5 separate regions of the Homo sapiens genome follow, and regions 1, 2, 3 and 4 are each linked to region 5. Evidence: promoter capture Hi-C in 16 types of primary human blood cells and fetal thymus (Javierre and others, 2016). All regions are on one chromosome and are shown on one strand. Each heading gives the region's core, a stretch centred on a gene start or on the middle of the fragment in contact. The rest is flanking DNA. Distances are from core to core; before and after follow the strand shown. Region 1 overlaps GOLGB1 (golgin B1). Region 2 overlaps IQCB1 (IQ motif containing B1). Region 3 overlaps SEC22A (SEC22 homolog A, vesicle trafficking protein). Region 4 overlaps GOLGB1 (golgin B1). Region 5 holds the start of KPNA1 (karyopherin subunit alpha 1).

Region 1 (5,977 bases), core at 57-2,556, 780 kb before region 5:
AGAAAACACTGGGAAAACCTAGATTCAGGGACATTCTAAAAATACCTGACCAATACTCTTCAAAACTGTCAAAGTAATGAAAAACAACAAAAAACTAAGAAACAGTCACAGATTAGAGAAGACAAGGAGACATGCTGATTAAATGCAAAGTAGGCCGGGCACAGTGTCTCACGCCTGTAATCCTGGCACTTTGGGAGGCCGAGGCAGGCAGATCACTTGAGGTCAGTAGTTCGAGACCAGCCTGGCCAACATGGTGAAACTCCGTCTCTACTAAAAAATACAAAAATTAGCCGGGTGTGGTGGCATGCACCTGTAGTCCCAGCTATTGGGTAGTCTGAGATGGGAGAATCACTTGAACCTGGGAGACAGAGGTTGCAGTGAGCTGAGATCGCACCACTGCACTCCAGCCTGGGTGCCAGAGTGAGACCCTGCCTCTAAATAAATAAATAAATAAACGCAAGGCAGTATCCTGGATTAGGTTCTGAAACACAATAAGGACATTACTGGAAAAAATGGTGAAATCTGAATGAAGTCTACCTATAGTTTAGTTTATGGCATTGCACCTATGTTCTCTGTTTTGAAAAAGCTACCATGGTTGTGTAAAATGCTAACATTAGAGGATGCTTTGTGTATACAATAACTGTCTGTCTAATCTTCCCAAGTTGTATGTAAATCTAAGGTTATTCCAAAATCAATTTACTTTTATAACCACTGTGTAGGCTACATATTCAGATCAGTGTCAACTGCTAGTCCATAAAGTCCATGAAAATGAGAAGCATATTAATGCTTTGATAGGAAAAATCAAAATAGAACTGGACTATGCATAGCATTAGTTTACGTGATTATGCCTAATTTTACATTTTGTGATAAAATGTTATTTGGCTTTTAAAACCCTCAGCAGGGGCCGGGCGTGGTGGCTCATGCCTGTAATCCCAGCACTTTGGGAGGCTGAGGCGGGTGGATCACGAGGTCAGGAGTTTGAGACCAGTCTGACCAACATGGTGAAATCCCGTCTCTACTAAAAATACAAAAATTAGCCGGGTGTGGTGGCACGTGCCTGTAATCCCAGCTACTCAGGAGGCTGAGGCAGACGAATCACTTGAACCTGAGAGGTGGAGGTTGCAGTGAGCCAAGATTCGCACCACTGCACTCCAGCCTGGGCAACAGAGCAAGACCGCGTCTCAAAAAAAAAAAAAAACCTCAGCAAGAAGAAATATAAAAACTATTGTACAAAATAAACACTTAAATGAAACTAGGCTCTGCTACAGTTTTCTTCTACTGGGGATAATAATAGTGTTTAGGGCAGCCATGGTTCTTAAGAAAGAAGTGATGAGAGATACCTGTTTTTTTAATAGATTGTCTTGGGTAATCTAAGTAGCACATCACTTGGAAAAGATACGTGAGACAGAAATAGAAAAAGTGAACTGTTCCCTAGGAAGGCAGCGCAGGATCATATATAACTTCATATCTAAATACTGGAAGGGCAACACAGTGTCATACATGAGTACATAGGGCCATATATAACTATTTATTCAAGATATGAGAACCACAGCTATAGTCAGGATTAAAAAATCACAATTCAGCAGTATACAGATTCTAAACTTTCTTTTCAACTTTAGAGATCATATTTTCTTTGGTTAACTTTTAATGAAGGAAATGAATACCATCACTAAAGAGTTTCTTAAACATATAGATTTCTGCTAATCAAAGAAAATCATAATGGAACCTAACTTATCAAACAGAATCACTTTATCTTCAGATTTTTCAGACCACTTTGGAACAAAGAAAACAAAATAACCAACTGATGGGATTCTGAGAAGATGGGAGTAGCAAGGGGCCCCATGGATTTTGTATCTTCCTTTATTCCCACATAAAAACAGACAAAGCAACTAGGTAACAAAAGATCCATGGACAGCCTTTACCAAAAAACTACTTAACAAAGTTTCCTACAAACCCCAAAATAAACGTGGATATAGACAAACCGCCAATAGTCAAAAGATCTGGGTGTCACTGGTGTTCAACTGGGAGGAAATTGAGGGAAGCCAGAGGAGTACAACACCAAGAGGACCTCAAAAGAGCCAGTGGGCATTCACTGGCAAATGCGCCAAGCCAATTACAGAACAGTAGTTGATACAAGGAGGGGTCTTCCCATTCCAATAACAGGTACCTGCCAGGGGCCTACGAGGGCTGAAAGAGCTGAGGCAGTCTGGACCTTTATTAATTCTCAGAACTGAAGAGTTGGGGCTCTCTTCCAGGATAGGGTCCCACACTGAGGAGAATCTGCTGAGAGGAGAATTAAAATTAAGTGACTAAGGAAAGAGGAGGTCCAGATAAAGAGCAGGTGAAAGTGGCAAGGAAAGAAAGGCAGGAAATCCGAGAAATCCAGCTGCCATATAGTTGAACAATGTCTGAAAATAGCACAAGAGGAAACCTTATCAAGTTAGAAAAGCTGTATAAAATCTCTTTCTAAAAGTTCAGCAACACTAAATTCATATTAAAAATGAACTACTGAGGCCAGGCGTGCTAGCTCATCCTGTAATCCTAGCACTTTGGGAGGCTGAGGTGGGAGGATCACTTGAGCCTAGGAGTTCAAGACTAGCCTGAGCAACATAGCAAGATCCCATCTCTACAAAATTTTTTTAAAAAGTCAGCCAGGCATGGTGGCACATGCATGTAGGTCCAGCTATTCAGGTGGCTGACGTGGGAAGACTGCTTGAGCCCAAGAGGTGGAGGCTGCAGTGAGCCATAATCACACCCCTACACTCCAGCCTGGGTGATAGAGTAAGACCCTGTCACAAAAAAGAAAAAAAGAGCAACTGAAAAGTCTCACAATTCAGATACATTACTAGAAGAAAAAAAAGGAGGAAAACGATCATGATAACATCCCGACAGAAAATGGAAGCACGTCAGAGAGCCATGCTCAAAAAAACAGTTCAAAACTATAACCACTTAAATCTACTGAAGGAACTAAAAGGCATTAAAAATGACATAAGATGTGAAAAAATAAACATCAGAAATAGAAAAACCCAGAAATAAAGTGAAAACAAGAAGTGACTGAAAAATTTAAAAAATCATTTTGGAAATGAAGATGAAACTAGAAGGAACAAGAAAATGAGTAAATATAACAAACCATGTCATTAAAAAAAAGCAAAGTTGAAATGAAGGATAATTTTAAAAATCAAAAAGAAATGACCTAAAAAACTAGATATGCAACTACCTTATGACCCTCAATTCCACTCCCCAGCATTTATCTTAGAGAAAAGAAAACTTAAGTTCACAAGAGAACCTGCTGTATATAAACATTCATAGCAGCTTTATTTCTATTAATAGACGGTTAAGCAAACTGATATATACAGGCAAATGGTTAAACAAACTGGTACATACATCCCATCACATACTTCTCAGAAATAAAAAGCAACGAACTACTGATGGACCCAACAACTTAGATGGATCTCCAGAAAATTACATTGAATGAAAAAAAGCCAGTCCCAAAAGGTTACATATTATACAATTCCATACTTCTATAACATTTTTGAAATGACAAAATTTTAGAAATGGAGGAAAGATGAGTGATTACCAGTGGTTAGAGAGGGGTTGGGGTGGGAAGTGACTGTGGTCATAACAAGGCAACACAAGGGATCCTTGTGGTGTTGCAGCTGTTCAATATCTTGACTGTGGCAGTGGATACAGGAACCTACACAGGTGATATAACACTGCAAAACTTAATGATACACATACATACATATACAAATGAATATACAAGTAAAACTGGGGAATATATCTATCTCAATATCCTAATTGTGATATTATGTATTAGTTTTGCAAAATGTTACCACTGGAAGAAACAACAAAGTGTATAAAAGAGCTCTGATTATTTCCTACAACTGCATGTGACTCTACAATTGTCTTCATATTTAAAAAACAAATGAAAAAGAAATGAACTAAATGCAACATGATATCCTGAATTGAATCCTGGAACAGAAAATGGACATTAATGGAGAAACTGGTGAAATGTGAACAACGTCTGGAGTTCAGTTAATATTAATGTACCAATGTTGGTTTCTTAATTTTGTACACTGCTAATGTCACATGTTAATCTTAGGGAATACTAAGCAAAGGATACACCAGACTTCTGCACTATCTTTGCAAATTTTCTGTAGTAAACTTTCTGTAGTGATCTGAAATAATTCCTAATAATTTGTTTATTTTTAAAAAATGTAAGAAATTAAGAGTTACATAGGATTTGCGAGAAACAGATAAATATTGAAGATAAGTAATGTGAATAACAGGATTCCCTGAAGAAGAAAAGCAAAGCAAAGAAACAGCACAAATATGAAAAACCATAATCCAAGAATATTTATTTGAAAATTTTTTTTAAAAAGATTTGAAACTACATCTTGAAAGAGCCCACAATGTACCTCAGAATGTCAACTCAGAATGACCAACAAAACACTCTAGTAAAATTACTGGACTTAAAAAAATCCTTTAGGCTTTAGGCTAAAAGATCATATGACCAGTAAGATAAAGAAAAAAAAGCACTAGATTTTTCAACAGCAATGTTTTTGCCAGAAAAAAAAAATGAGTTACAAATTTAAGATATTCAAGAAAAGAAAAAGTGAGCCAAGGATTCTATTTCTGGCAAACACAAACTTTAGATATAAAAAACACAGACAAAATGTTATGAACGAGCAAGAAAATTCATGAAATATGAATATTCCCTTAAGCCTTTCCTAAAGAATTTACTAGAGGCAAAACTTGAGGCAATCCAAATGACTAAAGAAACATCATTATAAGAACTAGTGGTGAGCATTAAATATACGGTTACTAACAGAATTAAGACTAAGTAAAGACTGGAGGAGAGACAGCATAGTATGTAATGATTATATGCTCTGACAATATATAGGACAACCATGAAAAAAAATCGGGAAGAATGTGAATAGCATATGCAAAAAATAAAAAATATTTTTAAACAGTTTTCAATAATTAAAAGTGGTTGTTGTCTACGGCCATACCATCCTGAACACACCCGATCTCGTCTAAAGTGGTTGTGGTGGTGATATTCGTATCATCACTCCTAGATTACTATATGTGAAATGTAGAATTAAAGCAAATGATAATTATGGATACACTAATTCTGTATTTTCAGTTATGAAAAGAAGATACAGATGTAATACAGAAGAAATTAAGAACCCCGAAATACAAACTAATCTTTGAATCTGAATAGGAACACTCAGTGTGAAATGACAATTCAGTATTTTATATTTGTTCACATATTTTCCTAGCTCTGTCCACCAAAAAGGCTTAAAAGTAATGACAAACTGAGAAGCAATGAATATCTCTAGTGCCTAGATTGGGGTCTTGAAATACTCTTTCCCATTTTTAAAAAAGTTTTTAAAAGAAGGTTTTCTTAGAGAAATGGCTAATTCCATTTCTAAAGTGGAAATGTACAAAATGATCCTGAAACATCTTGTCATACAAGATAGGAAGCTTTCAAAGGACACAGGTTCCCATTGGCTAAAAGGATAATTTGAATATGTATGAATAAGAATTACAGCACACTGGGCCATACTGTCCAAGGTAATTTATAGATTCAATGCCATCCCCATCAAGCTACCAATGACTTTCTTCACAAAATTGGAAAAAACTACTTTAAAGTTCATATGGAACCAAAAAAGAGCCTGCATAGCCAAGACAATCTTAAGCAAAAAGAACAAAGCTGGAGGCATCACGCTACCTGACTTCAAACTATACTACAAGGCGACAGTAAGCAAAACAGCATGGTACTGGTACCAAAACACATACATAGACCAATGGAACAGAACAGAGCCCTCAGAAATAACACCACACATCTACAACCATCTAATCTTTGACAAACCTGACAAAAACAAGAAATGGGGAAAGGATTCCCTATTTAATAAATGGTGCTGGGAAAACTGGCTAGCCATACGTAGAAAGGTGAAACTGGATCCCTTCCTTG
Region 2 (5,875 bases), core at 2,999-5,498, 680 kb before region 5:
AGAACAGCTTCTTAAGAATTAAACTGATTTAGCTACAAAAGACTAAATAAACACATACCTTAGCTGCATTGATAAAACATGTTTGTAATTGTCTCCCCAAAACTAGAAAATTTTCTGCAGCTGATGGAAGTAATTCATTGTAAAATTCCTCTGCATCTTCTCCTGGCTCCAAGCCCACACAGCAATGGCTGAAATAAGAGCACAAGTTCGTGTTAATTAGAAGTTTATGTTGAATGCTCAAGCTTCTAGAGACACTGTGCCTTATTGAGAATTTTTAGTATGCTTCTTTTGTTACCAAGACAATAAAGAATTTTTGTTGAAAAATTAGTCTAACAACTTTCTAGAAAAGTAAACAGTGGTATGGACCATGCTTGTACTTAGGTCTGGGATTTATGTATCCTAAAAACCTACATATCAGCTCATTCAGCAAATAAAAGACACTTGGCTCACAATAAAGAGAAGCTAAGTTTTCAGTGAATTGGCTATAATCATTCTCAAAGCTATAGGATACCTTGAGAGTTTAATTTATGAAAAGCATTTGTGTTAACTAATACATTTTAGACACCTAATAGCTGAAAAATGCCCAAGTAGGATTTGTTTGCAAGGGATACATAAGGAAACCAAACACTAATTTCATACCAATTTTACCTTCCAATAGATCTACTTTTTGCAAAATACTCATTTGCATATTCCTTATATCAGAAGGACAAACGGCAAAACCTAACTCTAGTAGGAACACTTTACAATATACATTAGAGGAGAGAAAGTCACTTAGAGAAAAAGGTCCTCTTAAAATTGTACATAAAAGTCATTTCCTGTACATAAGTCAGAAGTCCCAATAATAAAAGGTTTTTCTGTAAACTAACATTCAAAAGAGCCTCAAACCCAAGAATGGTCTCTATGTGTGTACTCTAATGAACAAAAACTGCTGTTTGAGTCTTTTCAACAAAATGTATGGACACTAATAAGCAATAACAACTATGTATTGAGCATGTTAAAAATCTAAGTAATCAATGGCAGACTGGATAAAGAAAATGGTATATTTCTTTGGGGTGGTACATATACACCATGGAATACTATGCAGCCATAAAAAAGAACAAGATCATGTCCTTTGCAGCAACATGGATGGAGCTGAAGGCCATTAACCTAAGTGAACTAACACAAGAACAGAAAGCCAAACACTGCATATTCTCACTTATAAGTGAGAACAAACATTGAGTATGCAATTTACCTATAAAACAAACCTCCACATGTACCCCTGAACCTAAAATAAAAGTTAAAAAAAAACCTAAGTGGATAATATTTACATGTATCACTTTTTGTTGTTGTTGTTGTTTATTTGCACCTGGGTTCCTAAAGTTAATGGGCTAATGCTCACATGTATCAGCTTTTCTTTTCTCTTTGGTTCCTAAAGTTAATTACTTAAGAGTATCTTTTTTGATTGAGAAGATTAACAAATGAAATTATGTTTATTTGTGCATTCAGAAACATGGGAATTTCTTAAGTCTTGAATTCCACCCGAGAGCCTGGCTTAATCAATATCATCATAAACTAGCATATCGAATCAAAACAAAAACATAAGGCTTTATTTACTTAAGAAAATCAATCTTGAAAATTAAAGTATGAAAAAGAATATCACATATATTTTTCAACTGTTCTTTGTAACTGTGTGCTTTAAATTTGGCCTTTACCAAGTAACACAGTAGGATTAAGCAGCTTAGAAATCTAGCATCCAAGACAAACCCTTTCAGTGGGAATAGCTTATTAAATTCAAATGGCTTATTTAGGAAAAACAAAAAAAGAAGGCTAGGATCCAGTTAGTAAATACACACTTTCACTTATTAATCAGGAAGTAGCTTAGGCACTAAGAACATCTGGTTTATTTTACTACCTCCTTTAAAAAATGTTTATTTCTCTTCTATTAATTTCTAGCATGGCAGTAGATCAGTAAATTCTACTTCTAAATTTTATTGACAGTATTTGGGTTGCTTAATGAAATACACAGTTGATAGCTACATTGATATAGTGAAATAAAATGTTTCTTTATCAGTTCTCCTATAGTACTTGCTTGCATACTTTCATTTTAGCACTGATTTCATTCTGCTTTGTATCATATACTTACATGACTGTCACCCAATCTCTATTTTAAGTTTCTCAGGTACAGAGCCAGTGCCTTAATTTCTTCACTTCTTTAAAAATTCCTTAATCAATAAAAAGTATATTAGGCACTTGGAATTCAGTGGTGAGAAAAAAAATGATCACCATCTTCATTAAGCTTGTGGAGGAAAATTTTAGACAGTCAAATAATCTGAAGTAAAATTATGAATAATAACATATAATATGAAGGAAAAGTACAACCAAAACCTACAACAGGAGGTTGCCAATGCTTGTTAGGCAGATAAATAAAAAGCAAATGTTGAAAATCAGAATCAACTACTACATCCCTCAAGAACAGCTGACTTACTGCTTTATTTTACCTTAATATCTGTGTAAGCTGGGAAATTGTAGTCCAACCACCCTGGATTCGAGAATAATCTTGACTGAGGACCAAGAGGCAATATTGAATGAGATCATAACAATATATATCTTGTTTGATTTTCTTCAACTCTGAGCTTCCTAAAGGTGTGATGTTTATTATTTCTAAGGCAAAAGGAAATAAGATATATTTATTTTTGCTTAATACATCCAGGAGCTATTTGTATTTTTATATGTTGAATAATCACTAAAAATATATTAGAAGGAAAAATTACTGTTCTATTATAGTGTTAAGACCTCTCTGAACAAATTTAAAAGAAATGTTAAAATTGTACCAACGATGGAACCATTTTTCACTTAAAATGCTATCTAATCACAAAAAGATTTTCTTACCTTTTAACTTCAACAGTATAACAGGGACATTCTGCTCAGGGCTTTTTGCAACTTCAGCAGCTATAGATAAGATCCTTGGGTCTGTACCTGTTGGCTTCATTTCTCTTATTACCTATATTTTAACAGAATCAGAGAATAAAGGTCAAAAAGCCAGGAAATGTTCACTACCTAAATAATGTTTGAAATATAATTTCAATATAAATAAAAACAGCTTTTCTTGCCTTGTTTGAGAGGCAGAATGTAGATTTTTTCATTTCTTCCTTATAGAAAACTGGTTTTTCTAACCAGTGTAAAAGAGCTCAAGATTCCTATACCTCACATGTAACAGCTATAGCAGGTATTGTTTATTGTGCACTCACTAAGAGTCAGGAACTGTGATAGGAGCTTCACATTCTCTCTCTAATCTGCACAATAATTCTAGGATAGGAATTAACTTCCTTTAATCACACAAGAAGAACTGCAAAAAAGAGCTAACATGACAGGCCTAAGACTACTATACTTTCAAAGGTGTGCTTACAAGGTTGGCCTTTGACTGGCATCTAGAACTTAGATTTCAGGAGGGTTTCTGCCATTCTCTGGTAAGAGTGGCTCCCTGTGCCTAAAACTGTTTATGAAAAACAATGTGGTTCATGCTGAATACCCGCCTTCCTTCCAGGAGTCTTAGAATTCTGGTACATGCCAGTCGAGAGTACCTATACAGAGGGTGCCTATGTGGCCATCCTCCAATAAAAATTCTGATCACTGAGTGTCTAGTTGAGCTTCCTTGGTAGACAACACTTCAAACATGTTGTCATAGCTGGTTGCTGGAGGAATTAAGCATATCCTACGTAACTCCACTGGGAGAGAACTCAGAAGTTTGTACCTGATTTCCCCCAATATGCTTTTTCCCTTTGCTGATTTTGCTTTATTTCCCTTCACTGTAATAAATCATAGCTGTAAGTACACTATATTCTGAGTCCTGTGAGCCCTCCTAGTGAAGCACTGACCTTCAACACACTAATGCTCAGAAATGTTACATAAATATAAGATAATCAAAGATTGCTTCTAAATAGTATAGTGAATAAGGCCAGGGGCAGTGGCTCACACCTATAATCCCAGCACTTTGGGAGGCCAAGGTGGGTGAATCACTTGCGGTCAGGAGTTCAAGACCAGCCTGGCCAACATGGTGAAACCCCATTTCTACTAAGAATACAAAAAATCAGCTGGGCATGGTGGCGCGTGCCTGTAATCCCAGTTACTCAGGAGGCTGAGGCAGAATAGCTTGAACCTAGGAGGTGGAGGTTGAGTGACCTGAGATCACATCACTGCACTCCAGCCTGAGTGACAGAGCTAGACTCTGTCTCAAAATAATAATAATAATAATTAATAAATAAGTAAATAGTATATTGAATAAAATCAATTCTCCTAACATTAAAAAACAAGGTCCACATCCTAATTTGTTGCTAAAACTTTCTCTATGTAAAAAAAGTTTAAGGCTGAAGAATCGCTTGAGAATTGGTGTTCAAGACTAGCCTGGTCAACAAAGCAAGACCCTGTCTCTAAAAAAAAAAAGTTTTAAAGCATTTGAAGCTCAAAGATATCCTTATATAATAAAAGCGTATTTCCTTATTTATAGTAAAGCTAACATGTATCAACTGTTTAATATAAGCTAAGCACTATGTTAATATACTATACACTGTCTTGTGTAATCCTCACAACAGGGCTATGAAGTAGATAGAGCGTGTGATCATTTCCATACATACATATATACATATACATATATATGTTTTTGTCCACAGTTTCTGGCTCATAACTCCCATAGCCTTTGTTACAGTCTTGTTATGTTAGGGTGCTTTAGGCCTCAGAAAACAGAATCTATTTCTGACTTCCTCCTCTCCTCCTTTCACCTGCTCCTTCTCTCCAAAGCAGAACTCTAATCATCCCTGCCTTTCTCTGACCTATCTTGTCTAGCTGTAGGTCATAAGACCCCTGTTTCAGAATGGGTCTTGCCCTATATCCTGGAAGGAATGCTGAACAGAGAAGCCAAGAAGAATCTGAGCAGACAGGCCTTGCTGGGTTTCCCCACTCAGTCTGTTAGTATCAGATCATATCTTTTTTGTCCAATCACATTTCCAAAATGATTGTCCATGCTTCAGTCATGCCTATCCATTGAAATCTCCATAAAAGGCTCAAGAGGATGGGGTACAAAGAGCTACTGGATAGCTGAACATGTGGAAGTTCCTGGAGGAATTTCCTGGATATCACAGGCAGGGAGGACATGGAAGCTCTGTGCCCCTTCCCATACTTCACAGTATGCATCTCTTCATTTGTATCCTAGTATTTTTTTTTGGAGACAGGATCTCACTCCTGTTGCCCAGGCTGGAGGACAATGGTACAATTATGGCTCACTGCAGCCTAGACTTCTCAGGTTCAGGTGATTCTCCCACCTCAGCCTCCCAAGTAGCTGGGACTACACTTGCAAGCCATGACGCTCGGCTAATTTTTTGTATTTTTAGTAGAGACAGGGTTTCTCCATGTTGCCCAGGGTCTCTGTAATATCTTTATAATAAACTGGAAAACATGTTTCCCTCAGTTTTGTTAGCTCCTCTAGCAAATTAATACACCCCAAGGTGTGTATTAATAGGATTCCTCATGTGTAGCTGGTCAGTCAGAAGCACAGGTAAAACAACTTAGGGCTTGGATTGGCATCAGAAATGGGGGTCCCTCTTGCAGGACTAAGCCCTAAACCTAAGGGATCTGACCCTATCTCCAAGTAGACAGTGTCAGAATTGAATTAGATGATACCCAGCTGGTGTCCGCTGCAGAATTGATTGCTTGCTTGTTGGTGGAAGAAAACTCCACACATTTGGTCACAGAAGTCTTTTGTGTTGATTGTCATGATGTGAGAGCAAAAACTGTTTTTCCATTCATATATCTCTTATTAGGTACAATATAAATCATTAAAAGACAGGTTTGCTGAAAATACCTTAAAGAAAGCCCAGTGCAACTCCCGGCACATAGTAGTCAC
Region 3 (5,957 bases), core at 1,098-3,597, 690 kb after region 5:
TTTTTTGCGTGCAACTGGTTAAAATCGAAGTATATCTTATGTTGGTATATGAAAGAGGCCTAGGTCTTATCACAGGGGTGCCTGTGACCTTCCTTGAGTGTCTCACAGAGTTGTTAGAATTGGGCCTGAGTTTAAATCCCTACTTTGTCACCTACTCGTTTAGGGATTAAAAAAAATTCCTCAAGCTTTCTGGGCTTGAATTTCCTCAAAGGTAAAATGGAACTAATAATACCTATCTCACAGGTTTTTGGAACGCTTAAATGAGGTAATGTGTATAAAGTGCGTGGTCCATGGAGAGTAATCAATAAATAATACAGCAAATATTTAATGTAGTGCTTTTAGCATGTTACAAGGCAATGTTTCAGGCACTTTACATGATCCTATGAGATAGATACTATTGTCATCTTTAAAACAAGCCTATGAGATAGATGCTATTAGTAGCCACAATATATAGATGTGGAAATTGAGATATAGAAAGGCAAAGCTTGTCCAAATTTACATGGCTGGTAGATGGTGGAGCCAGGATTAGAACCCAGGCAGCAAGTGAATAGATAGTTTCTATATCCCTGGTTTCTTGTGTCTTGTTGGTTTTGGGAGACTGATGAAGCATAGTGATGTAGAGATACTAGAAACTTAGACCGAAGTACCAGTTCTGCTATATACTAGCAGTGTGACATTGAGAAAGTGAGCCTTAGTTTCCTCATCTGTAAAATGGTGGTTTTACCTACCCAACCGTGAACTATGTGGCACTATAAAAATGTTGGGATTGACACATTTGAGCATGTATTGGGGGCCCTGTCCTAGATGTGGGTAAAATCTGTTGTGAAGCCTGAGGTCTTATACATACTGTGCAGTGCAAGCACCCATAATAGGAATGTCGAACACTGCTAGTGAGGTAGAAGGCATAGGCAAAATGGCGGAAATTCCATCCCCTTTATCACCCACTCTATCCCCCACCCTCAGCGAGCACTTTTAATAAAATAATATGTACCATATTGGTATTGTTTCCCAAACTTTGGTACTGTCACATATGCAAGATAATTTGATAAGCAAATGAACATTAAAAAATTCTCCCCAAATTTTCACACACATACATATTTGAATGAAACAAGTTCATTTAATTTAAATTAGGAGAAAAACTTAACATCTCAAAACTGATTTCACAGATATTATTGCTAAAAAATAAAGGACAAGAAAAGTAAGTCAATTCAAAGACCAATATTAGGTAAATAGTACAGGTGGATGAAGATAATTCTGAAAGTGGTACTTGGATGACTGAAGACTGGGAAGTTATGAACTAAAATAAATATGAGTGCTTTTGCCCCCAGTATAAAATGTTTTTATCTTAAAAGTGGCATTTGTGAAAGCATTTGGTTAGAACGTATATACAAAATCCACTTACATGTTGGGCTTTGTTTATTACCTTTTGAGAGATAACTTCCTGAGACATTGAGCCTGTAGTCATTACCCCTACAAGGTTCTGAAGAAGAGGGGTGTCTTATTATCTTGGGTCCAGGAACTTGCTAACCACTACTATAGTAGTTTGGCATTGTGGGAATTTATTTTCCTCAGCCTTTACATAAAAGTTTACCCAGATTTACCTAGATTCTAGCTTGTGCTTTTTCCTCCAACAGTTGCTGATGGGGAGAGGAAAAAATAGCCACTATTCAGGTTCCCTGTGAGTTAACTGCTGCTGTACAAAGGCAGGTGTAATATTTTCTCTGTATTAAAGGTGAGGAGAAATGGCCCAGTGCCCTAAACATTTATCTATGGCCCCGATAAGCTAAAAACTCCTAAATCTTCCCATGCAATTGTTGTAATCTCTTGCTTTCCACAGTTCCACTGGTTCTTCCTTGGGATTTTCCCAACCACAACCCTCCTTAAGACCTTAAAGATACTTTAACCTAGCTTAGGCCTGACATGGACAGATTTCCTTTTCTGCTAGCACAGTCCAGATAAGATTAGTTTAAAAAAAAACAAACTATATTATGAATCCGTGGTAAAAAGAAAAAAAGTAGGGGTATGTTTATTGAATTGATGGAGAGACAGCTTAGCCTAAGGTGGTTGGAATCTGTCTACAAATTAGTTAAGCCTGACGTTGATCATTGGACATTCATCCCCGTTTGTCAGGCTTAAATTCAAGTGCTTTGGATGCTGAATCAAATTACTGTGGTAGAAAGAGGTTTAATTTTTTCCCTAAGAAAAATCTTATCTATGGATAAGTAGAAACCATTCTCTGACAACCTTGTAATAATTTTGACAGGGAATGTAACTACTGTGTTCTGCTTTTGGTTAAAGGCTAAAGTACATATTAGGAAAATTTGAGGCTGGGCGCAGTGGCTCACACCTGTAATCCCAGCACTTTGTGAGGCCGACGCAGGTGGATCACTTGAGGTCAGAATTTGAGACCAGCCTGGCCAACACAGTTAAGCCCCATCTCTACTAAAAATACAAAAATTAGCCAGGCATGGTGGCGGGCACCTGTAATCCCAGCTACTTGGCAGGATGAGGCAGGGGAATCGCTTGAACCTGGGAGGCAGAGGTTGCAGTGAGCCATTGCACTCCAGCCTGGGCAACAGAGTGAGACCCTGTTTCAAAACAAAACAAAACAAAACAAAAAAACAACAAAAAAAGGAGTATTTGAAATGTAAGTTTGTCCAACTTTAGTTTTCCAGTTAGTGAAGTGGTGGGCAACACACCTGCATTGTTTGCTCTTTTCAACTGAGTTTCTCTAATTGAGGAGTGATGTTTCTTGATGGTAGGACTCTTCATTCCTGCTATCTGGCATAATTCATGGGACACATTAGATATTCAGTAAATGTTTGGTAAACGAATGGAACTTACAAATTGTATTCTTTTTACAGTATGTGTTTTAGAAAGCATGGATCATATATTTATTGATCTGTCCTCCAAGTCACTAAAGAATAACTTTGAAGACTACATGAAATTTGGCAACCTATTAATGAAGTCTATTCATAATATTTCTATTAGGATCCTAGAGAGGCCAGACATAAAATAATACAGTCTACTTTTATTTTACTTTTTGAGACAGGATCTCTCTCATCACCCAGGTTGGACTGCAGTGGCACAATCATAGCTCACCATTGCCTTGAACTCCTGGGCCTGCTTCAGCCTCCCCAAAGCAAGTACTATAGGCGTGTGCCACCATGCCCAGCTGATTTTTAATTTTTTTTATAGAGACAGAGCCTCACCATGTTTCTAGGTTGGTCTTGAACTCCTGGCCTCAAGCAGTGTTGGGATTATGGGTATAAGCCATGGCACCCCATCCAATCTGCTTTTAAATACTAAAATGTGGGTATTTAGAACTGCAAGTTACAACTCACCCTCAAATTAATTCCCAGAATGGTTATTGTGTTGCAGTGTACTTCTGGAAAGACAACAGTTTTATAGTTAAATAATAAACGCTTAAGGGGATAGAGTAAGACATTTTCCTACTTTCTTACACTTAGGCTAAATGTTACAATTGTGATTTAATAATTAAGTAAAACATGGTAAAAAAAAAATTAAAGAGGGGTTTATAGTATAGATATCTCTTCAGGGATCCCAACTTTTTCATGCTACTGCTTTTAGGAGAGAAAAAAACTAGATGAATGGAAAAAAACACCAATTGGGATATGTCACACTGGGACTTCAGTTTGAAGACTCCACTGTAGTAAAAAGACTAATTTGCTTCTGGATATTTTTCTCTTTAAATGAATGGAGAGGCTGGGCGTGGTAGCTCATGCCTGTAATCCTAGTACTTTGGGAGGCTGAGGTGGACAGATCACTTCAGGCCAGGAGTTTGAGACCAGCCTGGCCAACATGGCGAAACCTCATCTCTACTGAAAATACAAAAATGAGCTGGGTGTTGTGGCGCATGCCTGTAATCCTAGCTACTCGCGAGGCTGAGGCATGAGAATTGCTTGAATCTGGGAGGTGGAGGTTGCAGTGAACTGAGATCGCACCACTACACTCGTCTGGGTGACACAGTGAGACCCTGTCTCTGAAGGAGAAAAATATTAAAGGGTAATGACACAGTAACACCTAGAGATTTCTCCTTTTTCCTCATGAAAAGAGGAAAAAGGGATAGTGAACTTAATGCATTAGATTTATTAGTTGGGTTAATTTTTATTGTCAGATCAGTTATCACCATGAATGGGAAGTCATATTTTGACTTCACACAGCAGTGAAAACTATCAGCTCCTGATTTACAAGCTTTGTAACAACTGGTTTTCTGTGGTATTTTTTTTTATATATATTACTCATTTTTTCCTTTTTGGAATGAGATAATATTGACCTAGATTAAGTGGGCAGGTAAGGATTAATTTAGTCTCTAAGATACAATATTTTTGGAAAAATGCCTGTGAGATTTTTATCAGATTTTTGAATTTTCACCAGTTGCCTCACCACTAGTGAGGAAGCCTTTAGTGACATTGTGCTTTGATGGCCTGACAGAGAAGAGTTATCACTTAATCTTAGATAGTGAACATGTTTTAATTTAATGTTTTAAAAAGTATGGGCCTTAGACAATAAGCAAATTGTCAAGCCCTATCCCACAGTCAGTGGTTCAGAATTTTGAGGGCAGAGCTCAGAAATCTGCATTTTTAACTAAACTTTCAACTTCTTATGCAAGCTAAAGTTTGAGAGCCACTGTGTATTTTATGAAAGGTTGAGTGACTGTTGACCTGAGTTCCTTCAGACTCAGGCCTGTGAAGTCCTTTCATCTGTTTTTGTAAAGCAAGAAGAGAATCCAATAAAATAGGCCATTAAGATTTACTTTCTGGTAAAAAGATTGAGAACAACATTAAAACCAATATTCCTTTAGCTTTAGGATTTATTTTAAATAATTTTTTTCTGATTATAAAAGTAGTATATGTCTACTGTGAATATTGAGAACATTTAGGAAATTATAAAATAATAATAACCAATAATACCATTTCTTAGAGGTGAGCATATTCTTAATTTGGCATCTTTTTCTGCATCCGTTTTTCAATCCCTTTTTCCTTCTCTTTATCTTCGTCTCTTTATCCTTATGTTTGTGTAAAACAACATTTGCAATTTTTATCCTACTTTTTTCTCCTTAACATGTAAGCATTTTACCACATTATTAAACTTTCTCCACAAACATAACTTTTAGTTGCTGCATTATATTCTGTTATATGAATATACTATAATTTACTTAACCATCACCATTTTATAGGATATTTAGATTGCTTTCAGTTATTTGAGTGGAAGAATGTCTTTCTGTTTAAAATTTTGCCTGGATTTCTGATTATTTTTCTCAAGACAGGTATATATTTAAATTTATTGAGGTTAAAAGGTATGCCTTCAGACTCTTGTTGAAATTGCCAAATCATTTTGAGAACTGTTTGTACCAGTTTTTACTTCCATCTGTACTTATGAGAATGCCAGACAGAAGTATTATTTTTTAAAAAGCTAATGTGGCTGGGTGTGGTGGCTCATGCCTGTAATCCCAGCACTGTGGCAGGCGCCTATAGTCCCAGCCACATCCTATGCTGTGGCATGGGAACCCAGGCTGAGGCATGAGAATTGCTTGAACCCTGGATGGGGGATGTTGCAGTCAGCCAAGATGGCGCCACTGCACTCCAGCCTGGGTGACAGAGCAAGATGCTGTCTCAAAAAAAAAAACAAAAAACAAAAAACAAAAGCTATATGTTAAGTGAAGCATAGTATGTTGTTTTAATTAGTTTTTTGTTTTTTTTTTCCTCCTGAGACGGAGTCTCACTCTGTCGCCCAGGCTGGAGCTCAGTGACGCGATTTCGGCTCACTGCAACCTCTGCCTCCCGGGTTCAAGCAATTCTCCTGCCTCGGCCTCCTGAGTAGCTGGGATTACAGGTGTGCACCACCACGCCTGGCTAATTTTTGTATTTTTAGTAGAGAAGGGGTTTCATCATGTTGGCCAGGCTGGTCTCAAACTCCTGATCTTGTGATCCACC
Region 4 (5,340 bases), core at 2,581-5,080, 800 kb before region 5:
TTTAGTTTCCTTAGTTAAAATTATGATGCCAATGACAACATTATTATTAGCTAAATGTTAAATGTTCTCAAGAACCAAAGGACACCTCAGTAAATCACTTCCTTCAAAAGTAAAATAAAATAGGCCTAGGCACTTTTTTTTTTTTTTTTTGATACGGAGTCTCCCTCTGTTGCCTAAGCTGGAGTGCAGTGGTGCGATCTCGGCTCACTGTAACCTCTGACTCATGGGTTCAAGGATTCTCTTGCCTCAGCCTTCCAAGTAGCCAGGATTACAGGCATGCGTCACCATGCCTGGCTAATTTTTTTTTTTTTTTTTTTGTATCTTTAGTAGAGATGGAGTTTCACCATGTTGGCCAGGCTGGTCTCGAACTCCTGACCTCAGGTAATCCCCCCCACCTTGACCTCCCCAAAGTGCTGGAATAGCAGGCGTGGGGAGGCCTAGCCCTAGGCATTTTTTACAAGTTCATTTTCCCTTTCCCCCTTGAAAATGGCTTTAGGGTTTTTGTTTTCTTCACTCTCGACTTAGGTATTATGGATCCCACCAAGATTCCACCACATGGTTTTAAACATCAGCATGCTTAAGAGAACAGCTTGCTCATGTAACACCCTGGTCTTGTGTGATGCCCTTCAAAACTGTCTGGCTAGGGCACAATGGCTCACGCCTGTAATCCCAGCACTTTGGGATGCCGAGGCGGGCAGATCACCTGAGGTCAGGAGTTCGAGACCAGCCTGACCAACACGGAGAAGCCCTGTCTCTACTAAAAATACAAAATTAGCCAGGTGTGGTGGTGCATGCCTGTAATCCAAGCTACTTGGGAGGCTGAGGCAGGAGAATCACTTGAACCCAGGAGGCAGAGGTTGCAGTGAGCCGAGATCATGCCATTGCACTCCATCCTGGGCAACAAGAGTGAAACTCTGTCACAAAAAAAAAAAAACAAAAAACAAAACTGTCTGGCTAACATTCAGTTATTCAATACAAATTTTCAACTTAATTGTTTCTAAAATCTTTCCTTTATGTCTATGTCAATATATTAGTAAAGGTTATAATTTGGGGAAGAGGATTGGTGAGATGGAGTATTGGTGTTGAGGAAGTTTCACTTTTTAATTTATAAAGTTCTAAAATGTTCAATTTTTTATAGGCACATATTACTTTTATAATAACACATTTTTTAAAAGTTTCCTTTATACCTTCATAAAGGATAAATTTTCACCTGTAAGACAAGAAATCAGGTGAAAAGAGATTTTCACCTATAAGAAAAGCACTGAGATCCATCCTTCTTCAGATTTATGGATAACTCCATGCAATTTAGTCTCCTAACCTATGCACCTAGATCTGGCCTGAGTTTTCCAAAAACTAATTCAAATCCTTCTCGTTTCAGTCATTGAATCCTTCAGATCAGTCATATTTAACATAGCATTCTATTTAATATCTGGAACATCACTATCACATTTTTAGTATTGTAATGATAATTATAATATTAAGAAAGATTATAGCCAGTCAGAGGCAAGAAAAATGCATCAAGAAGTTCAGAAGAGCTGTTTTTCTCAGTCCTTCTATTGGTTCAATTGGTTTGAGTACAGATTTCATTAACAGATCCCTGAAAATATGAAATACAAGCCACTCAGATGGTAGAGATGTGGACTTCAAAAGCAATCAGCTACTGACCTTCCAGTTGCTGAATGGTCTGGGCTGACTGAACTGCTTGCTCATTCTTATCTTGGAGAAGCTTTGAATTTTGATCCTTTAGAGCATCACAGGCAGACTGCAGCTCTTGTCCAGTCTTTTGAAGACTCAAAATATGAGAGGTCTTCTCTTCCATTTCTGCTTTGTGCTTCTGCTCCAAAGCACTATACCGAGACTCTAGTTCAGCCTGGGCTTGGCCTGCTTGCTCAAACTGTTCTAAAAGATGATGCATTTCTTCCTGCAGATTATGGAAGGATAATTTTCTCTCTGCCACTTCAAGTTCCATCTTTTCCAGTAGAATCTTGGACTCCTCTCTTTCTGTTTCCACAGTGTTCCTCAAAGTATTATGCTCAGCTTCCATCTGCTGTAACTGCTGAGAGAGAATCTAAGAAAAAAGACAAAGTCTCATGAGCCATAAATACATTATTTCATTTCAACAAGCATTGTAAAGTGCTTTTTCTTATAGGATGGAAAAAAATGGGAACATGTTTCTATGCTAGAGAGAAAGCCCTTCTCAAGAAGGAGAGTTGAAAATTAAGAAGAGAGGAGATGGCTGACTCCCCAGCAGCACACAGGCACCCAGAAAAACAAACAGAGAATGTGGACTATAGCACCAATTCTGCATTATGATGAGACTACTTGGATGTGACAGGATAGGAACACAAGGAATCCAAGGGGTAGAAAAAAGGTAGTTCAAACTGTCAAGCATGGGTCCATATAGGACACAGAAAGGAGCAAGGGTAAGGAAGAATTAACATACTAGAGAAGCAAAGTGGAATTCAATGGAATTCAATGAGAATGAAGATCAGGACAATATGAGAAAGAAAATGGCAGGATGGATTATAGTCAGATCAGCATTACTGATTACCTTCATACTCAAGAGAATATTGCAGAACGAGATCATTTCAATCTAACAGAAGGTCAATTTACAAAAACAAGAAAAGATGGGCTGTACATAAAGCACAAAAACCATTCAAGACAGAGAAGAGTAACTGATGAAAAAGAAACTCACTAAAGGATAATACAGGTCAAGTATCCCTTATTCTAAATGCTTGGGACCAGAAGTATTTTAGTTTTCCATTTTTTTCAGATGGTGGAATATCTTGGATATCTTGGGATAGGACGCAAGTCTAAACATGAAATTCATTTGTTTCATATACATCGTATACACATAGCCTAAAGATAATTTTATACAGTATTTTAAATGATTTTGTGCATATTTGCCTTTGATCTGTTACCCTGTTCCACAAGGTCAGTTGTGGCATTTTCCACTTGTGGTGTCATGTTGGTGCTCAGAAAATTTCAGATTTTGCAGCATTTTGGATTTTCAGATTAGGCATACTCAATCTGTATGACATTCTAGATAAACTAGGACCCTAGATCTAAAATGGCAAAGGGAAAGAGCAACAATAAAGAAGTGCAATGTATGCTCCATGAGGGAAAGAACTGTATTTAGTTTTGCTCATAATTGTACTGCATCCCCACCACTTAAGTACGAGGTATTTGTTGAAAGAATGAATAAATGGCATCAATTCTCTGAAGACTTTAAATAGGCTTTTATATCTACTGCCTGGCAAACGAAAGTGGAAATGAATACCCTCCAAGGCAGGAAGTAAAGATTAAAAGGCAGTACCTGGTTTCTCTGCTCAGCAGCAGTCAGCTCCTGTTGCAGCAAGTCAACGACCTGAGCACGGCCCACCAAGGATTCTTCGTGTTCCTCAAGCTTCCTTTGCAGCACCCTCAATTTCTGAGAAGAAAACATTTTAGACATAATATGCTAACAAATGAGTGCTTGTATTTGCTTATCTTTCAAAATGTCATGTAGATTTGTATACTTAAATTTTGGGGTGTTGAAAATGACAGTTTAAAGAGTGGGAGACCAGCATGCCATGCTCCCCCCATCCAGCAGCAACGAAGAGTCTCCAAAATGTCTTCTCCAGAGCACCAACAACAACCAGACCCAGACACAAGCAAGTCCCTGAATTAGGGAGTCTCTTTAAAAATTAGAAAAAACAATAACACATATCTGCCTTCAAAATCATACAGTTAATAACCTGTACCTAGATAGCATAGGTACATGTACATCTTACCCACCCAAGAGAACATTCTCTGCAGGCAAGAATCATTTCTCTTCTCCTAGTTTCATGCACTGGGCAGGCACTTGAAAAAAAATTGTTGAATAAATAAAGCAATGATACACATATACAATTAGTATTCTACTTAATAATATGTTGTATTCTAAAACTTTATTTAGTGGTGCATTCTGAAAGATTGCTTAGAACTTAAAAGTTTCCGTTCTAATTAATTCTAATTAATTTTCAATCTAATTAAACAGATCAAACATAAAGTATCACTGAAGTGCCTTTCAGTACCACAATGCACTACACACTAAGTGAAATAAAATACTTTGAGTTAGTAGATGGTGAACTCAAATACAATGAAGCCAATTTTCAAAATCTACTCAAATTTTTTTAAAAAAGAATTACTGATCTAATAAAAGACTTCATGTCTTCAAAATCATTCTTTGTCTTCTCTAATTTTTTAAATATTTAAAACTGACTTCATTGATTTGAAGCTTTGGGTTAGGTGTGTAATGCACAAAGGTAGCTATAATCAGAAAACTGAAGAGAAACCAATTTTTGACTACCACATAAATTCACCAACTAAACTCAGCTTTTGAGCACCAACAACCTGATTAGAGGGGTAAAAGGCAAGAAAAGGATAAGAAAAAATAAATAATTTTTATGCAACAGAAGACAAGGACACAAAAGAGGCCAATAAGGAAAACACTAACACCAAGTGAAGAGCAGTGGGTAAGGGTAGGAAATTGGCTGTGATGGATTAAATATTAACCAAAATGACAGTCATTCTACCGAGTTTTAGCAACACACCTGTTGCATCTCTGTTTCCACATCTGCCTGGGTTACTAACTGAAGAAGCTCATCTTCATGAAGACGAACTTGTGTTTCAAAGCGGGCATCTTTCTCTCGGACCACCTGCTGCATGGAACTCAACTGAAGACACATACCAGAGAAACTATGCAAGTTACACTCCCCGAATATTGCACAAATAAAACTCACAGACTACTTTCCAAGACAGACACTGAGACTTGATAGTAGCTTTTTAAAGTGAAATTTTGATTGTCAAGGATGAGGATGTTGGAAGAGAGATAGGCTGGACAGTAACTATGAAATGCGAGAGAAAGCCTATTTTCAAATTCAGAAGTTAGCCTAAACATAAATTTTGATCAAAAATTATATGTTCATGGTTACTAGAAATGTTTTAAATATACAAGAAGTGTATTTTTTAAAGTTCTAAAAAGATTAAGATATTAAACACATAAGGTGAAGTTAAGTTAGATTTCTATTAAACCCTGGACACTTCTTGCTCATGGCTGAAAAGCTTTCAGTAAAATTCTCATGCCCTATAAATGAAAATTCAAACTAACATATCATTTATTCAAGATTCTCTACAACTGGAAATACCAATCTATCTTTCTAGTCTTATTTTCAAAGAATTGCTTCTACCAAAGAACCTCATGTGCTTCTAAATCCACACCACCTCCCCAGACAGCTGTTTTCAGCTGTCATTACTTGCAGCCTTCTAGATCATGCTCATTTTTAACTGGCTCTGAACAGAATGAAATGGAAATAAATG
Region 5 (6,016 bases), core at 2,154-4,653:
CAGTCTTCATCCCTACTCTTCCAATGTACAACCTCAAAATTTTCTAATGCAGGCCCTATCTGGCCCTCAGTTGGCCTCAGGCCATCTCCTGCTTACTGCAGCAAAAGACAGAAATCAGCCCAAATCAGCTAATTTAACTGTTTACCATTTCCAGTGTTTTCTTCCCTATTATGGCTAAATTCATAACACCATGCAAAGTACAAAGATACCTTAAAACAAAACAAGGAGTTATCTTTATCACTAGGTCAGTCATCTTTACTTGCAAGACCAATCAAAGGTCTTAACTGATTTTATACACAGTACTCATACATCTAAAAACAATCTGGTAGACTTAAAAGCACAGACATCATAAATCATTAAAACTCTATTTTATCATTAATTCAACAAACACTGTGCTAAAACACTGAAGATGCAAAGAATAAGATATAATCCTATTCTCAAATGTAAAGGGAAAAGGGAAAAGGTAAAAGGACCATTGAGAGCAACAGAGAATAAAGAAAATAATGCAAGAAACAACTGACAGCAATTCCAGGTTACGTATAAAATAATTCTTAACATAGTTGAGACTAAAGAAAATTATAAAAATTGAACACAGCTCTGAGACTCCTGACAGTCAAAGTATAGAGAAACAGGATGGCTTACAAAACAAAAATAATCTAATAAAACCAATCATTAGTTTAAAAAAAAAAAGCTTAATACTGGGGTCTTAGGAAGAATTTGTCTCTAAGGTCTGTATTTTATAGGAACCAATACATAAATTAGAAATTTCTTCATTAGATATTAATGAAGAAAAGATGTTTTTAATGGCCCCTTTGGTAAGTATCAGCTCTAGATAAGATGTATATTAAATCATAGTTCTGTGAAGAAACTTCTACGAGAACCACTTTATAAAGTAACATAATGCGGCTGGGCGCGGTGGCTCATGCCTGTAATCCTAGAACTTCGGGAGGCCGAGGAGGGCGGATTGCGTGAGCTCAGGAGTTCGAGACCAGCCTGGGCAAGACGGTGAAACCACCCGTCTCTACTAAAATACAAAAAATTAGCCGAGTGTGGCCTCATGCCCCTGTAGTCCCAGCTACTCAGGCAGTCTCAGGCAGGAGAACTGCTTGAACCAGGGAGGCAGAGGCTGCAGTAAGCCGAGATCGCGTCACTGCCCAGCCTGGGCAACAGAGCAAGCATCCAAAAAAATAAATAAATAAAATAAAAAATACCATAATGCAAGTATAGTGATTTCAGGTGATACCTTTCTAATTTAGTTTATTCTAGGTTTTCATAAATGTATGTTTTGTTGCCCTACAGGACTGTAAACTCCTCAAGGCTTATGTTGTCTGCTTCCATTTGAACTGCCTTTACTATTTAGTAGAGTGCTTTACAGTTGCTACTCAACTATAATAACTGACAAAATGTTATGCAGTCAATATTTGTAATATTAGCTTTCCCTGCTACACTATAAATTCCATGAGAACAGGGACAGTGAGTTTTGATCGCGACTATATCCCCCCAAGTCTAGAAGATCACTCTGTAAGTATTCGCTGATTGAACGGATTAAATAAAGAAAACAACGAAAAAGTATGAAAGGAGAGAAATAATTTAAATGGCAGTAACTTTGGGTTCTAAGGTTGTTCTCAACAAGAACTGGAAGACCTTAGGTAAGTTACTTAACATTTGATTGTCAATGCTTTCATCTGTAAAATAGAAAAATTAACAGATACTTCAGATTCAAATGTTTTTAATATATGTAAAGCATTTAACACAATACCTGAAAAAAGAACTCAATAAATGTTAATTCCTTTACTTTCTCTTACGTCTCATCTATCCATAAAACAGTGTCTTCCAAGAATATTTCAGTAAAAATACAACAGAACTCATTCTTACTTTCCTTTGAAAAATTAAATTTTCATCTCTTTGATCTTTAAAAAGGAGGGAAAAATAACTTGTGTACTGCTTTCAAAATATTACAAATGCAAAAGCTAGTTAAGACAAAAACAATGTCGAGAATGAGCCTTGCTGGTGGCATCCGCCTGTAGTTCCAGCTAGTAGGGAGGATGCCTTGAGGCCAGGAGTTCCAGATCAGCCCGGGAAACAAAGCAAGACTCCATCTCTTAAGAAAAAAAAAAACAAAACAGGAGGGGGGAAATCACTTCATCTACTAATAGAGATTTTTAAGCAACCGTTTATTTAAGAAAAAAGGGTGAAATTCAAGTTAATATTACTTGACAGTACGTTTCAGAAAAAAAAATACTCTGCAGAGCTGGGTGTGGTTGCCCAAGACTAGTCCCAGCTACTTGGGAAGCTGAGGCAAGAGGACAGTTTGAGCTCAGGAGTTGGAGTACAGCCTGGGCAATATAGCGAGACCCCATCTCTTTAAAATACAAACAAAAACTCGGCAATCGTTTGTTCTGAGTTGAAACCTTAAAAATCAAATATTTTGAACGCTTTCATTTAAAAGTGGAACACGACCCAATCCTAAAACATTACTTCATGACGACTTCCTTGACTCCAGTCATCCTTGTTTCCTCCTCCCGTTTTGAGCTTAATCCGATACCTCGCTGCTTCCCTCGCATCGCACACGCGGCGTGCAGACCAAGTTCTGTCATTGCTATAATTACCACACCCCCGATCAGCCGCTCCAGGCCCATGTTGTTATGACATCGGTAAACTGCAGCCGGCCGTCTCCACCCCCCGCTTCCCCCACCTCCCTCCGGGCCGCCGGCTCCGACCCGGTCTGTAACTTGTGAATTCCCAAGACGGTCCCTTTTTGCCAGGGTTAGAATTTTTACACGCCACCCCTGCTCCTTCCTGCCTCTGTCACAGCGCTCTGCGCGGCCCACCCCCGCCTCCCGCCCGCCGCCCGGCCGCGGCGCAGGCTCCGCGCTCGCCTCCTCTCCGCCCGCTGCCTCGGCGCCCCGCAGTCCCCGGCGCCGCTTACAGCCCCGCCGCCGCGCCACGCCGCCCCGCCCCGCCTAGCCTCGACCGGCGTTCCCGATGGCGATCACACCAGGGCTCCCCACCCCCACCCTCTCCTCCGCCGGCCTTGTGGCCGTTAGGACAGCCGGGCCCGTGACGCACGGACGCGGCGCGAGCGTCCGGCCCAGGAACCCCGGCTCTAGGCCCTGCCGGCACCCGCCCTCGCCCCAGGGCCTCTCCTGAGTCCCTCCGGGACTGCCCGGATCTGCCGGCGGGAGGGGGAGGGGCCGGGGCCGCAAGGCCCCAGCACTCACCAGGCTCAAGGCAACCGATCCCGGTGCCACCGCTGAAGTTAGCCCCTCGCTCGCCCGCCCGCCGTGCCACTCCCGCGCACAACCTCGAAGAGCTGGCCCGCGCCTCGGCGGTGCTCACCAGGCCTCGCTCTCCGCCGCCTCGCACCGAGCAGCGAGACTCAGCTCAGCCGGCGTTCGCAGTGCGCCTGCGTGCGGGGGCCGGCCCGAGCGCCTACGCGCGCCCCTCCGGCGCTTGTCGCAGAGGCTGCCGGGAGACGTAGTCTTGTAACGCTCTCTCGCCGGACATTCCTAATGGTTAGCGCCCAGCCTGTGAAGAGTCGGGGGTCGGGGAGGGGGTCTCGCTAAGAAGGAGGTTTGCAGACCATGGCAAAGGTTGGAGAAAGTTATATGTACAAACCTGTCTTTGCTAAGCTCTTCCAGGGCGGATCGATGCTCACCTCTGTATAGCTTCTAAGTACCTAATACGCGTTGATGGAATGAATGATGGAATGATTGAAGGCTGAGGGAGTATTACAAAATTAGTAGGTCAGCGCCTCGTGTCTAAAGGGCTCACATGCAGCATGAATGCAGGAAGCTTCTGGACATTCCTTTTTTAGTTATCTCCCATCCCCTTTGCTTGATAACGTATGCGTAGTATCAAAAATAATTAAGGGCCGGGCGCGGTGGCTCACACCTGTAATCCCAGCACCTTGGGAGGCCGAGGTGGGTGGATCACTTGAGGCTAGGAGTTTTGAGACTAGCCTGGGCAACATGGCGAAACCCCGTCTCTACTAAAAACACAAAAATTAGCAGGGGGTGGTGACGGGCGCCTGAAGTCCCAGCTACTCGGGAGGCTGAGGTGGGAGAATCACCTGAGCCCGGGGTTGACGGTGAGACTGCAGTGAGCCGAGATCGCGCCACTACACTCCAGCCTGGGCAACCGGAGTGAGACCCTGCCTCAAAAATAATAATAACAATAATAATAATAATAATAATGAAACTACATGAAACACATACTCGTTTTACTCTCAACTGCTCTCAAACGAAAACTTGGAGCAAATGATTGCTAATGTTAAATTTCATGGAATTCTTTGGGGGAGCAAATGGAGTAGTGGCTTCAAAAGAAGAAAAACTGAAGCCAGCCTAGCAGGGATCACGGAATAGTAGACAGATTTAAAACACATGCCAAGAAGCAAGGTGAAAGAGATGAGGTAGATTAATACATTTATAAATGTCCCAGGGAAGAGGAGAGGAGAGAGGACCACTCTACCTGAATCCTAGGTTATGCAATGTTCATTTGTCCTGGACTTCTCTCTGCTGCATCAGCATTCTCCCGCTGATGTTGTGTTTACTAAGATCAGAGTTGAGTTTGAGCAAGGGGGCTGGGGAAAGGGAAGGTGTGTTCAACAGGAGAGACTTAAGGGCAAGTTTGCCTGACCACAGCTAGACTGAAGACAGATCACCTTATTCCAATAAGGAACTAAGACTGATTATTCAGAGCCGGTCTTCAGTCTTTGGGAAAGCTAATTTATTTCCGGTTCACCCTTATTCCTAGCTAGTCCTTGATGGTCCCATCCAAAAGTCTGGGGTATTTACTAGGGCCTCTTCTCTTTGGTGGGCCTTCTAAGCCCCATGAGACAGCCATAAGCTCTTCTCCCTGTTTCAGCCACTGCTTTCAGAGTCAGCAATCACCTTAGCTTTGGAAAAATGATGGCAAATATCAGGCTAACCTCTGGTGGCTTCCTTTTTCTTCCAGACCTTGCACTCACAAATTCTCACTTCCTTGGTAGCTCTTCAGTACATTAACGTTTTTATATTTTGTTCAGTTGTTCTCTGTAGTGGAAAGGTTGATTGAAAACAACAGTAGGCCATTGCTGGAAGTTGAATTCCTATGTATGTTACTTTTACAAAAATGTTATCATACCATACATGGTGTTTTATAAGCTACTGTCTCTCTGACAATATCATTTTATAGTTTGAGAAATTTGAAAGTATAGAACAGTATTTTTTACTGTCACAAACAATGCTGCTGTGAACATTCTTGTACATCTCTACTGTGTATAGGGAAACTGCTAGATCCTAGGACATTGCATCTTTAACCTTACTATATGTATCAGGCAGAAATCTAAGATGGCCCCCATAATCTCTGGTCCCTGGTGTTGCCTATATAATCTCCACCCCTTGAGTGTAGGTGGGACCTTTGACTTACTTCTAGCCAACAGAATATGGCAAAGGTGATAGAATGTCACTCCCATGATTCCGTTTCATTATATAAGACTGTCTTTCCAGACTGGAGCTAGAGATTCGCTGGCCTTGAAGAAGCAAGCTGTCATGTTGCGAACTGCCTATGGAGAAAACTAAATGGCAGGGAACTGCAGACGGCTTCTAGAACTTGAGCGCAGCCTGCAGCTGACAACCAGTAAGAAGCCAGGGCCCTCAGTCACACAACCACAAGGAAATGAATTCTGCCAACAACCTGAGAGGTGGCCTCCAGATGAGAAGACAGCCTGACTTAAACCTTGATAGCAGTTTTGTGAGACCCTGAGCAAAGAAAACAGATAAACTGTGCGTAGACTCCTGGTCTACAGAAACTGTGAGATAATAAATGTGTCTTAAGATACTATGTTTATGGTAATTTATTATACAATAGAAAACTAATACACTAGACATTGCTGGATTATTTCATAAAGTGATTGTACCAATTTGTACTCTAGAAACGGTATATAAGATACTCTTCACTTGCTAACAGTTAGAAATGTCTGGCTTTTTAAATTTTTGCCAATCTAACATATAAATTACTTGAACATAAAAACATG

The links. Contacts are between HindIII fragments. The CHiCAGO score rates a contact against its expected background, and 5 or more counts as called.
Region 1: a fragment that was not itself captured here is called in contact with the fragment with the promoter of KPNA1 in region 5 in 1 of 17 cell types (total CD8 T cells); the score reaches 6.3 in total CD8 T cells.
Region 2: a contact is called between a fragment that was not itself captured here and the fragment with the promoter of KPNA1 in region 5, in 1 of 17 cell types (monocytes). The highest score is 5.2, in monocytes.
Region 3: a fragment that was not itself captured here is called in contact with the fragment with the promoter of KPNA1 in region 5 in 4 of 17 cell types (naive CD4 T cells, fetal thymus, total CD8 T cells and 1 more); the score reaches 7.5 in naive CD4 T cells.
Region 4: a fragment that was not itself captured here is called in contact with the fragment with the promoter of KPNA1 in region 5 in 5 of 17 cell types (naive CD4 T cells, naive CD8 T cells, total CD4 T cells and 2 more); the score reaches 8.9 in naive CD4 T cells.

Annotation. Positions count from the first base shown.
Region 1 is chr3:121,736,469-121,742,445 of GRCh38, forward strand. The region is part of intron 1 of GOLGB1 (golgin B1); the gene reads right to left. Among named protein-coding and RNA genes, the nearest start is that of GOLGB1, 10 kb to the right of the region's middle. The HindIII fragment of the contact is 8,358 bases long and covers 1-5,485 here.
Region 2 is chr3:121,825,993-121,831,867 of GRCh38, forward strand. It overlaps IQCB1 (IQ motif containing B1), which reads right to left. Exons shown (of 15, transcript NM_001023570.4): 3 at 2,869-2,980; 4 at 2,478-2,640; 5 at 59-188. The coding sequence starts at 2,968. Among named protein-coding and RNA genes, the nearest start is that of IQCB1, 6.1 kb to the right of the region's middle. The HindIII fragment of the contact is 3,950 bases long and covers 2,274-5,875 here.
Region 3 is chr3:123,203,082-123,209,038 of GRCh38, forward strand. The region is part of intron 1 of SEC22A (SEC22 homolog A, vesicle trafficking protein); the gene reads left to right. Among named protein-coding and RNA genes, the nearest start is that of SEC22A, 4.1 kb to the left of the region's middle. The HindIII fragment of the contact is 3,731 bases long and covers 483-4,213 here.
Region 4 is chr3:121,715,072-121,720,411 of GRCh38, forward strand. It overlaps GOLGB1 (golgin B1), which reads right to left. Exons shown (of 22, transcript NM_001366282.2): 7 at 4,575-4,697; 8 at 3,317-3,430; 9 at 1,666-2,068. Among named protein-coding and RNA genes, the nearest start is that of GOLGB1, 32 kb to the right of the region's middle. The HindIII fragment of the contact is 852 bases long and covers 3,405-4,256 here.
Region 5 is chr3:122,511,536-122,517,551 of GRCh38, forward strand. It overlaps KPNA1 (karyopherin subunit alpha 1), which reads right to left and starts at 3,404. Exons shown (of 14, transcript NM_002264.4): 1 at 3,222-3,404. LOC107984000 (a long non-coding RNA gene) reads left to right here and starts at 3,494. Exons shown (of 2, transcript XR_924403.3): 1 at 3,494-3,593; 2 at 5,490-5,823. RefSeq lists a silencer at 2,682-3,371. The HindIII fragment of the contact is 3,104 bases long and covers 690-3,793 here.